Linked DNA regions of Homo sapiens: regions 2 and 3 are each linked to region 1. Evidence: promoter capture Hi-C in 16 types of primary human blood cells and fetal thymus (Javierre and others, 2016). All regions are on one chromosome and are shown on one strand. Each heading gives the region's core, a stretch centred on a gene start or on the middle of the fragment in contact. The rest is flanking DNA. Distances are from core to core; before and after follow the strand shown.

Region 1 (3,333 bases), core at 579-3,078:
GATAGGAAGAGACCCCAAACAGGGTCTGGCCATCTGGGATGCTCCCCTTGCCCTGGTTTGCCTCATATCATCTCAAGGTTGCTGAGGAGGAAGAATTCATCTCTGCAGGCCAAGTTCAAACCCCAAATGGTAATCTGGGTAGACCTGAATCAGGACCCAGATGGCCACGGCTGAGCTCAGGCTCCCCCTGACAGGTGTGCGGGCCCTGGTGAGCATCTTGCAGAGCTGGTACACACTCTTCACCCCTACTGAGGCTACTAGTATTGTAGCTGCCACAGCCGTATCCCACACCACTATCCTGCGCCTCAGTCTTGACTATCCACAGCGGGAGGAACTGGCTAGCTGTGCTCGCACACTGGCTCTACAGTGTGCTATGAAGGATCCACAGAGCTGTGCCCTGTCAGCCCTTACACTCTGTGAGAAAGACCACATTGCCTTTGAGGCAGCCTACCAGATTGCCATTGATGCTGCTGCTGGTGGTATGACCCATTCACAGCTGTTCACCATCGCCCGCTACATGGAGCTCCGTGGCTACCCGCTACGTGCCTTCAAGCTGGCCTCATTGGCCATGAGCCATCTTAACCTGGCCTACAACCAGGATACTCACCCAGCCATCAATGATGTGCTCTGGGCTTGTGCTCTCAGCCACTCTCTGGGCAAGAATGAGCTGGCAGCTCTCATCCCCCTGGTGGTGAAGAGTGTGCACTGTGCCACAGTGCTTTCAGACATCTTACGACGCTGCACAGTGACTGCACCTGGCCTGGCCGGCATCCCAGGCCGCCGAAGCTCTGGAAAGCTCATGTCCACTGACAAAGCTCCATTGCGCCAGTTGCTGGATGCCACCATCAATGCCTATATCAACACTACACACTCACGCCTAACACACATCAGCCCTCGCCACTATGGAGAGTTCATTGAGTTTCTAAGCAAGGCTCGGGAGACCTTCCTGCTGCCCCAGGATGGCCACCTGCAGTTTGCCCAGTTCATCGACAACCTCAAACAGATCTACAAAGGCAAGAAAAAGTTGATGCTGCTGGTGCGAGAGCGCTTTGGCTGAGAGAGCAGATAGCTCACTGCCAGAGCAGCCTGGGTTCCCAGGTAGTATCAGGTCAGGCCAAGGGCACTGAAACATTTGTCCACCCTGAGAGAACTCTGAGCACCTGTGGATGAGGCCAAAGGACCACAGGGCTAAGGATGGGGAAAGTCCAGCTCTAGTCGATAATGCCTACCTTGGCAAGCTTCTGACTACAGCCTACTGTTCATGGAGGAGCTGGGCCCTGCAGATCGACCAGAAACCCCACAACATGCCACCTCATGCCCCTATATCCTGCGTGTCCTGAGCATTGGCCCTGTCTCCCTTGGCAAACACAGAACACTGTTCCATCTCAGGGATTGCTTAACCAGAGAAACAGACACATTTGTGGGACTGTAAATACTATATGTGTTGCTAATTATTGTAAACTTGTAACTATTTATAATTCTGCTTCTGATTTGATGGGCACTTGAAGTAGCTGTGGGTAGGAGGATATGCTTATTTTCTGAGGAGACTCACAACCATTTCTCAGGTTTCCCTTGCAGAGTGTTTGCTGGTAGCAGTGGAAGAGTGGGGGTGCCAAGGAGAAAAATGGCCAGTTAGGATCAACCCAAGTCTAGTCTATGCAGAATCCCCCACCTACAGACAGGGCATTTATAGTCCAGTGGTGAGTGAGGGACAGAGGCCAGGACTGGACTTAGACTTTTGCCTCACAAAACTGTGAGGACATTGAAGCTCCTGCCTCACACAGCCTCTTCAGGAGCCTGCTGAACACCTGAGAAACAAGTGCAGGGAGAAGATGAAGGTCTGGGAAGCCGCTGAGTTCATAATATTCATCTACTGTGGTCACCTTTGTGTTAGCAAGTGTGTGGTTTCATCTATAATTGTGTGTGTGTATCTTTATGGCTAAGTACATGTGTGTATGTACATAGATACATCTGTGCATGCCTGTTTGTGCACATATATATTTATGTGTATGTGTCAGTTCTATGGCTGTGTACCTGTTTGAATATGTGCACACTGGACTGTGAGTTTCTACGTGAGGATATACACATTTTGTGTACATGTGAGGATGCACATCTTTGTGCAAATGCACTCATGTTTGTGCATGTTTAGTATGTGTATCTGCGTACACGAGTGCATGTGTATAAACATGTTTGTATCCATGTGTATGCTTGTTATCCATGCATCTGTGTCTTTATATGTGTAACTGAGCGTATTTCTACATGTAGGGATGTCTGTGTATTCATGTTTGAGGATCTGCATCAATGTGTCCTTTTTGCCAGATTTCTCTTTCCCATTCCTCTTAAATCTCTCTCGCCAGCTAAACGTTTGTTCCCCATCTCTGTGCCTCCTCTATTCATTCTCTCACCAAACAAGCTTCTAAGCACCAATCTCCCTCTGCCATCAGATTGGCTGCTTTAGCTCCATAGTTCTCTTCTCGCCTCATACTTGCTTTCTTCCCCTGCCTTTCTACCTCAAGCTTCCTCGCCGGCTTTTGTCACAGTCTCATTGCTCGCTGACTTGGAGGCTAGGGCTGGTCTGCACTTAGCCTCTCCCTTCCTAATTTCTAGCCCTAGTGGGCAGTCCTGTCTTAGCCCTGGCTGACCTCCATAGTGTATCATGTTCCTGCTACCTTCCTGACCCCTGTGCTCAGCCTGGAATTGTTATAGGAGGTAGCAAGGGCACTCAGAAAAGTCAGTTGGAACCAGTGTCTTGGTGTTTACTGTTTCATGTCTTAGTTCCTGAGTTGGGGGTGGGGTTTGATAGGGAAGGGGTGGTATAGCTAGAATGTGAACTAAGAACTTCTCCATCTGCTTTACTTTTTCTTTCTTCGACAAACTGTCACCTTTTTTACTCCAAACTGACCAAGAAGTTGTATTTGCCATTTGTGGCTACTCAAGTCTTACTGTCCAGCCAAGGGCCCCTACGTCTCAGCCCAATGGGTTGGTTAAAAAAAAGAGAGAAGCCACTCTCATTTCTGTATCACAGTTGCCCTTTTTTAGCAAGTGTGTGAATTCACAGTGCTTTTCTATGAATAAATCATGGATCACATAAAAGATCATTTTTCTAAAAGCAGAAATTGTGTTCTCTCACTAAATGAAACCCATCTCTCCTTTCTGCATTGCCCTGGCTGGGCCAGGGAGCTGGTTCAGCCTACAGCACAGTGGGTGCCTAGTGGTCTAAGGAGATGCAGAATGACTGACAGATAAAGAATTTCTTGCCATACCAGACCCTTCCCCAGGGCTTACAGACACCTCAGAGCCTTGTCCTGGGAAGCAGGTACCACCAGGAAGGGT
Region 2 (3,333 bases), core at 226-2,725, 500 kb before region 1:
CCTCCCAAGTAGCTAGGACTACAGGCGCGCCACCACACTCGGCTAAGTTTTTGTATTTTAGCAGAGACAGGGTTTCACCATGTTGGCCAGGATGGTCTCGATCTCCTGACCTTATGATCCGCCCTCCTAGGTGGCCTAAATCTACATTTTTACATAAGATAAGGTGAATGTTTGAAGAAAAAGGGAATGGAGGAAGAAAACAATTATGTGGTGGACTCAGGGTAATCTAGTAGTAAGGTACTACTAGAAAGGTAGAAAGTAGTCTAGTAGAAAGGTAATCTAGTAGTGAACATTTATGGAATTTGTGGAATAGAGGCCAGGTGCGGTGGCTCGCGCTTACATTCCTAGCACTTTGGGAGGCCAAGGCGGGCGGATCACCTGAGGTCAGGCGTTGGAGACCAGCCTAGCCAACATGATGAAACCTCGTCTCTACTAAAAATACAAAAAATTAGCTGGGCGTGGTGGTGCGTGCTTGTAGTCCCAGACACTCCGGAGGTGAGGCGGGAGAATCGCTTGAGCCCGGGAGGTGGAGGTTGCAGTAAGCCAACACCGTGCCACTGCACTACAGCCTGGGCGACAGGGTGAGTGAGACTCCGTCTCAAAAAAATGTGGAATAGAACAAACTTTAGTTTTAGGAACTAGACTTTATATTGTAGATCTAGTTGCAATTGACACGTCCTTGTTTTATGGGAGGCTACATACTTTAAAGGTTTCCAGGGGAGCAAATAATTAATTATGATTTTGTGTATGTGTGTTTGTGGGGGGTAGTCATCAGGAAATGTCTGAGGCCTTTTGCCTTACCGTGTGGGTCTGGCTAATGTGTAATGTTTTGACTCAAGATTGTAAAGTCAAATTATTCATCCGGGGAGAGGATGGTCGTGTAACTGAATCAGCCTCCCAAGATGAACTTTCCCTCTGGCGTAAGTTTAGGAGTCCTGATATTTTATTTTCCTTTACAACAGAAAGCAGCAACCCTGTAATTAAAGAGAACAATGAAGGAAGCTATCTAAGCCATGAGGGTTACTGAGGATCTGCGCTGGGGTTAAGGCTGCGAACTTAAGAAATATTTGGATAGACAGTTCTCATGGCTTGGTGTGGTTAGACGTGGTCCTCCGTGGGCAGCAGCTAAGACGCTTACTCCAGTTTGGGCATTGAGGGCACAGTGCGTAGTGGTCCTGGAAGTAAAGAGAATCCTGGTTTTCCGCAGAGATCTAGGATTAACCTAAGCGTTCGGGTTCGGGAGCGGCCACAAGGGCGCCTCACTCCAACCTCAGCCATCCGCAACAGGGTGGGGTATTAGTATTTTTCCGCACCCGCCCCAACGAGGGAAAGCGCCGAGTCATTCCGGCGGGGCGCGCCGGGCGGGGCTCGGGCCACATCCCCCTCCTCTCTCTCCTCCTCCGGCACCCCCGTCCGTTCCGACTCTCGCGAGATCCCTACTGGCTATAAAGGCAGCGCCCCGGAGAGCTCTTGCGCGTCTTGTTCTTGCCTGGTGTCGGTGGTTAGTTTCTGCGACTTGTGTTGGGACTGGTGAGTGTGGGCAGTGCGGCCCCTGCGGAGTGAGGCGCGGCGCGCCCTTCTTGCCTGTTGCCTCTTCCTCCTCCTGTCCGGGGCCCGCCCGCGCTCGGGTGGGGGTGCTGTGATGCGTGAGGCAGCCGGGGGAGGCCCGGAGTCCGAGACTGCTTGAGCGCTGCGCACACCCCTCTCGTGGGCCCCCCACGTAGGTGCGGGAACCTGGTTGAACCCCAAGGCAAGCGTGGACTCGAGTCGAGTCTTCCCCCGGCAACTCGAGCACGTGGCGCGGCGTCTGGGCGGGCTGGTGGTGGGGGTCTCCGAGACTAGCCTCCTGCCGGACGGGGTGGGTTCGGGAAGCTTCTGGAATGGACCTGTATCCAGACTCGTGGCTGTAGAAGACAGCCTCTATGTATTTGGCTGTTCCGGGTCCTGAGCCTTGACTAGCTGCGGAGCTTCGGGTACCCTTTCCCCGTCTTTATTTTCCTGTACGTGGAATGGAGTTAGCGATGAGCCCAAATGTCCCCGCTGAAGCACTCTCTCTGCTGGTGCTTTCTCCAGTGCTGGGGAGGGACAGGGGGCACCTGAAGTGGGGTTTAGGGATGTGGCCCTCTACGCTGGGCAGATCCCCTGAAGGGGCCCGGTGGCGGCCTGAATCCCAGCAGCCTTTACCCCGAATTGGTTGGGTTTTGTACTTGGGGGCCACTTGGGAAAGAAGGATTGGACGAGAAGGCCATTTGGGGGCACCAAGTTGCAGCATGCCTTAGTTTTTGGTTTTTGTTTTTTGTCGTTAAAGGTGTTAAGGACTTTTTAAAAAACAGTTAAAAGTTTGCTAAGATCCATGCTTACAAAATTTCTTTTGCTTGTGGTATTGTGAACTAAGAACTTTGGGACTTGGAAAAGCTTTCAGACCGCGGCTTAGTGGGTTAAATCTCTGTTTTTTGAGCTAGAGTCTCGCTCTGTCGGCCAGGCTGGAGTGCAGTGGCGCGGTCTCGGCTTACTGCAACCCCTGTCTCCCGAATTCAAGCAATTCTTCTGCCTCAGCCTTAGGAGTAGCTGGGATTACAGGCTTGTGCCACCAAGCCCCGGCTAATTTTTGTATTTTTTTTTTTTTTTTTTTTTTGAGACGGAGTCTCGCTCTGTCGCCCAGGCTGGAGTGCAGTGGCTGGATCTCGGCTCACTGCAGCCTCCGCCTCCCGGGTTCACGCCATTCTCCTGCCTCAGCCTCCCGAGTAGCTGGGACTGCAGGCGCGTGCCACCACCCCCGGCTAATTTTTTGTATTTTTGTTAGAGACGGGGTTTCACTATGATGGCCAGGCTGGTCTCGAACTTCTGACCTCAGGTGATCTGCCTGCCTCGGCCTCCCAAAGTGCTGGGATTACAGGCTTGAGCCACAGCGCTTGGCCAAGATCTCAATACTAATCTTGGTGTTGATCTGGGTGAATCCAGTGCAACCTTCCTTTTCAGCAGTAAATTGATTCTTATACTTGTTTTCGCCCTGGGATATTAGCCCCAAAGTCAGGAACCCACCTTCACAAATGGTGAAGGGAATTCTAGGGCTTACACAATACCTAAAGATTTGAAATTAAGCAGATGCCAATCAATATCTTGGTCTTGCCTCTTTTTTTTTTTTTTTTTTTTGGAGACAGAGTCTCACTCTGTTGCCCAGGCTGGAGTGCAGTGGCGCGATCTCAGCTTACTGCAACCTCTGCCTCCCGGGTTCAAGTGATTCTCCTGCTTCAGCCTCCTGAGTAGTTGCGATTACAGGCATGCACCACCACGCCCGACTAATTTTTGTGTTTCTAGTAGAGACGGGGTTTC
Region 3 (3,333 bases), core at 258-2,757, 480 kb before region 1:
GGGCTGCAGTTGGCTTTGTTCAGTACAAAAGCTCCTAATACCCAGGTCTACTCAACTTGCCAGATAGGCATTCTCACTCTCCCACACACCTGCCATCCACTGAAACGGTGTCTCAAAGAGTTAAAGGTCGATCTGCAACAAATAGCTTTTGTTTTCTCAAAAACCCAGTGTCATAATATTAGCTTCCAGCACATCAGGCATCAAGCCCTTTTACTTGGTAACACCACACCACTATCTCCACACCTTTACTCAAGCTTTTTCTGATATTTGGGATGTACATAACCCTCCTTCCTTCCAATCTATCTTTTCATATATAGCTCAATTCCATTTTTTCTGGCAAGACCAGTCTCAAGCTAGACCCAACCTACTTCTCCCTCTATATCCTCTCCCAGGACTGCTGTGAGCCACTCAGCAGAAGGAATGGGAAGTGGGTAGTCTCTTAAGCATCAGGCAAAGGGCTCAAGCTGAGCTGATTTAGCTTTGTAACTTAACTGCTCAGTGCACAGGGCACTGATGTGGGGAAATGTAACCGTGTAAATGGGGGTCGGGGTGCGGTGCTGAGACTGCTGTGCCAGGCAAGTGTACAAAGTTTCATTACCCAGCCCAGCACTGATGACTGGAAATATCATGAATTATCCTTCTGTTGGTAGAGGGAACAAACCAGCCAATTGTTTGCCTGTTCATCACCAGGAATGCCCTTCCTTCCTCAGCTGACCTAAATGATAGCTATGCAAACCTTCTAGGCTTTGCCCTCTCCTAAATCCTTTAGGAAGTTCCAAGGTGACTTTGCCTCACAGGTCCCTTTCTTCTTGTAAATTATATAGGTGACAATCTGAGCCACACACGCTACAGGTCATATGGTGTCTCCCGTTAACGAATCCGGCATTATATGGTGGCAAAAGGTTAAACATGCGACAACTTTTTTTTTTTTTTTTTTTTTTGACACGGAGTTTCGCTCTTTGTTGCTCAGGCTGGACTGCAATGGCGCAATCTCGGCTCACTGCAACCTCCGTCTCATGGGTTCAAGCAATTGTCCTGCCTCAGCCTCCCGAGTAGCTGGGATTACAGGCATGCACCACCACGCCCGGCTAATTTTATATTTTTAGTAGAGATGGGGTTTCACCATGTTGGCCAGGCTGGTCTCGAACTCCTCACCTCAGGTGATCCGCCCGCCTCGGCCTCCCAAAGTGCTGGGATTACAGGCGTGAGCCACCATGCCCGGCCTCGACCACTACCTTTTTAACCCAAGCCCCCACTGAAACTCTGTCCCTGTTGTCACATGGACACTGGGCTGCAGGAACCCAGGAGGATCAGAGGCTCCCGAGGCCTCACGCCAGTTGCAACGAAGCCAATCATATATTTCGCCCTAGAACAGCAGGAGGGATAAACTAACCTGGAAGGGGTAAACCTCGAAGCCAAAAGGACATAGCGTGTCCTCGATCTTCTGCTTCAGCTCTGCGACTTTCGGCTCCATAGCGCACGTTACACGCTGAGCTTGCTGGGGAATGAAGTCTCAAGGACAATTGGGCCGTTACGTTTTGAGTCAGCTTCGACTCCATTTCCCAGGTAGGAAATGGGTCCAGTAGCGGGACCATATTGCCTATGCGCGATGCATCTTGGGATGCGTAGTTCGTTTCCTCCTTGGAGACAGCCACACGAAATCAGGAAGACTCAGTTTCCCGGCAAGCTACACGGTGGGGGTGTGCATGTACGTGTCTCTTCTAGAGAAAGGTAGTTCCACCGCCTCCATCGCCGGTTGTGTTCGCAAGAGGCGACCTCAGTTTCCCAGGTGGCGCTGCGGCAGCCAGTCCAAAGTCGGACTTTCAAAACCAACCCGAAGTTTTGAACCCGGCGGCGGCAGTTGTCACTGGCACAGGTTTGGCGTGGTGGCGCCAGTGTACTACTTCTGGGGAGGTCTCAACCAGGTTCTGGCACCTTCAATCCCCACCTGATATCTGCGTATCATCACGGTATCCCGCTTTTCCCCCAGTTCCCCAAGAGCGTCCTTCCTTTCCCTAGTCACAGGATCGCAGTTTTGGTCTGATAGTGCATCCACCTACCCCAGTGTTGCATCCCCACTTCCCTCTTTCCATCTAACGTGGTGGCCTTTCCTGGGGATACCTTGGGTATCCCCCGCTAGGAGAGCAAGCACAAGACACCAGGGAGCCAGACCCCTGCCGCTCCCCTGCCACAGGATATGAATACGAGCCTCAGCTGGTTTGAGCAGCTGGATGTGCTTCTCAACGCTACTGATGGAAATGTGGTCCGGAATAAGGTGAGGGGTTGGTGGAGGTCCCCAGTTTGCGTGGGGAGGCTAAGGGACTCTCAGAGTTCATTGGCCTGTGCATCTGTTTCTTTTGTAGCAGTGGCTGTATCCTCTTGGGGTCTCCACAGAGCTCATTGGCCTGTGCATCTGTTTCTTCTGTAGCAGTGGCTGTATCTTCTTGGGGTCTCCACCGCAGGTAAGTAATGTCTCTTTCTACTTCCAAGCCCTTTCTCTTTCTGTGCCTTCCTCCAGTGCCCGTATCATCCATTATTCCTTCCAAATTCCAACTCTGTCCTTTCCTGAACTCTGTTTCCCCACACAGACCCTGCACTTAACCCTTCCTTATTTCCTCAGCCGGGGACCTGGCTGGGACCTGGATTTCCTCTCATCACTTGCCTCTGCAGTCAGGAGTCCAAGCTCAACAGCCTTGGGCTTTAGAGACTCCCATAGTTCCACAAAGGCTGAGCTGCCCTGAGTCCTAGAGCCCATCCTCTCTCTGGGGTGAGGTTGCTATTCTCTGATCCTAATTTCAATGTCAGGCTCAGGTGAGGCTTGGAATCCTTGGTGTGTATATGTGATGTTTGTGTAAGATGAGGATACTAGGGGTCGGGAAAAGCTGTTATACAGTAGTTCATGTGCTTTTTTCTGCCTGGGGAGGTGACAGGCACTAAGGCAGGCAGTGCAGGGCCTGCTAGAAGAGCGAGAGCAGCAGAAGTACCAGATCAGTGTCCTGGAAGGTATCTGGCCAGTTATTTTCTTCATATACACAGCTTCATATGTATGCACACAATTTTGCCACACACCTGTTGTGTGTGCACATGTGTCTTGTTTTGCAAGTAGAGTATCTAGGGTCTTGTGAAACTCTTAGAGAGGATGATCCCTAACTTGTCCCACTACAGCATCACTAAGGTTGCTGCAGGGGGCCCCAAAGGGGAGTGCTTTTCTCCTGGAGCAATGCCTGGAGGAGCTGAGAAAGGAACTGCAGGGCCTTCAGAGCCAGGTGTGGGAGCAAACCCAAGCCCAAGCCCAAGCCCAGATGCAAACAGGACCAGGAGAATGCAGTACTA

What was found. The method cuts DNA at HindIII sites, captures the fragments that hold promoters and counts their contacts. A CHiCAGO score of 5 or more calls a contact.
Region 2: a contact is called between the fragment with the promoter of PRDX1 here and a fragment that was not itself captured in region 1, in 8 of 17 cell types (total CD4 T cells, naive B cells, fetal thymus and 5 more). The highest score is 8.0, in total CD4 T cells.
Region 3: the fragment with the promoter of MMACHC here is called in contact with a fragment that was not itself captured in region 1 in 12 of 17 cell types (naive CD8 T cells, total CD4 T cells, naive CD4 T cells and 9 more); the score reaches 10.3 in naive CD8 T cells.

Annotation. Positions count from the first base shown.
Region 1 is chr1:45,016,178-45,019,510 of GRCh38, reverse strand. It overlaps ZSWIM5 (zinc finger SWIM-type containing 5), which reads left to right. Exons shown (of 14, transcript NM_020883.2): 14 at 195-3,112. The coding sequence ends at 1,057. Among named protein-coding and RNA genes, the nearest start is that of UROD, 5.6 kb to the right of the region's middle. The HindIII fragment of the contact is 1,175 bases long and covers 1,241-2,415 here.
Region 2 is chr1:45,520,026-45,523,358 of GRCh38, reverse strand. PRDX1 (peroxiredoxin 1) reads left to right here and starts at 1,475. Exons shown (of 6, transcript NM_181697.3): 1 at 1,475-1,530. RefSeq lists an enhancer at 997-1,076 and a silencer at 2,119-2,281. The HindIII fragment of the contact is 8,348 bases long and covers 1-1,874 here.
Region 3 is chr1:45,498,474-45,501,806 of GRCh38, reverse strand. MMACHC (metabolism of cobalamin associated C) reads right to left here and starts at 1,507. Exons shown (of 4, transcript NM_015506.3): 1 at 1,394-1,507. The coding sequence starts at 1,474. It overlaps CCDC163 (CCDC163 homolog), which reads left to right and starts at 1,734. Exons shown (of 5, transcript NM_001102601.3): 1 at 1,734-2,275; 2 at 2,364-2,462. The coding sequence starts at 2,198. RefSeq lists enhancers at 1,513-1,712, 1,262-1,794. The HindIII fragment of the contact is 9,755 bases long and covers 257-3,333 here.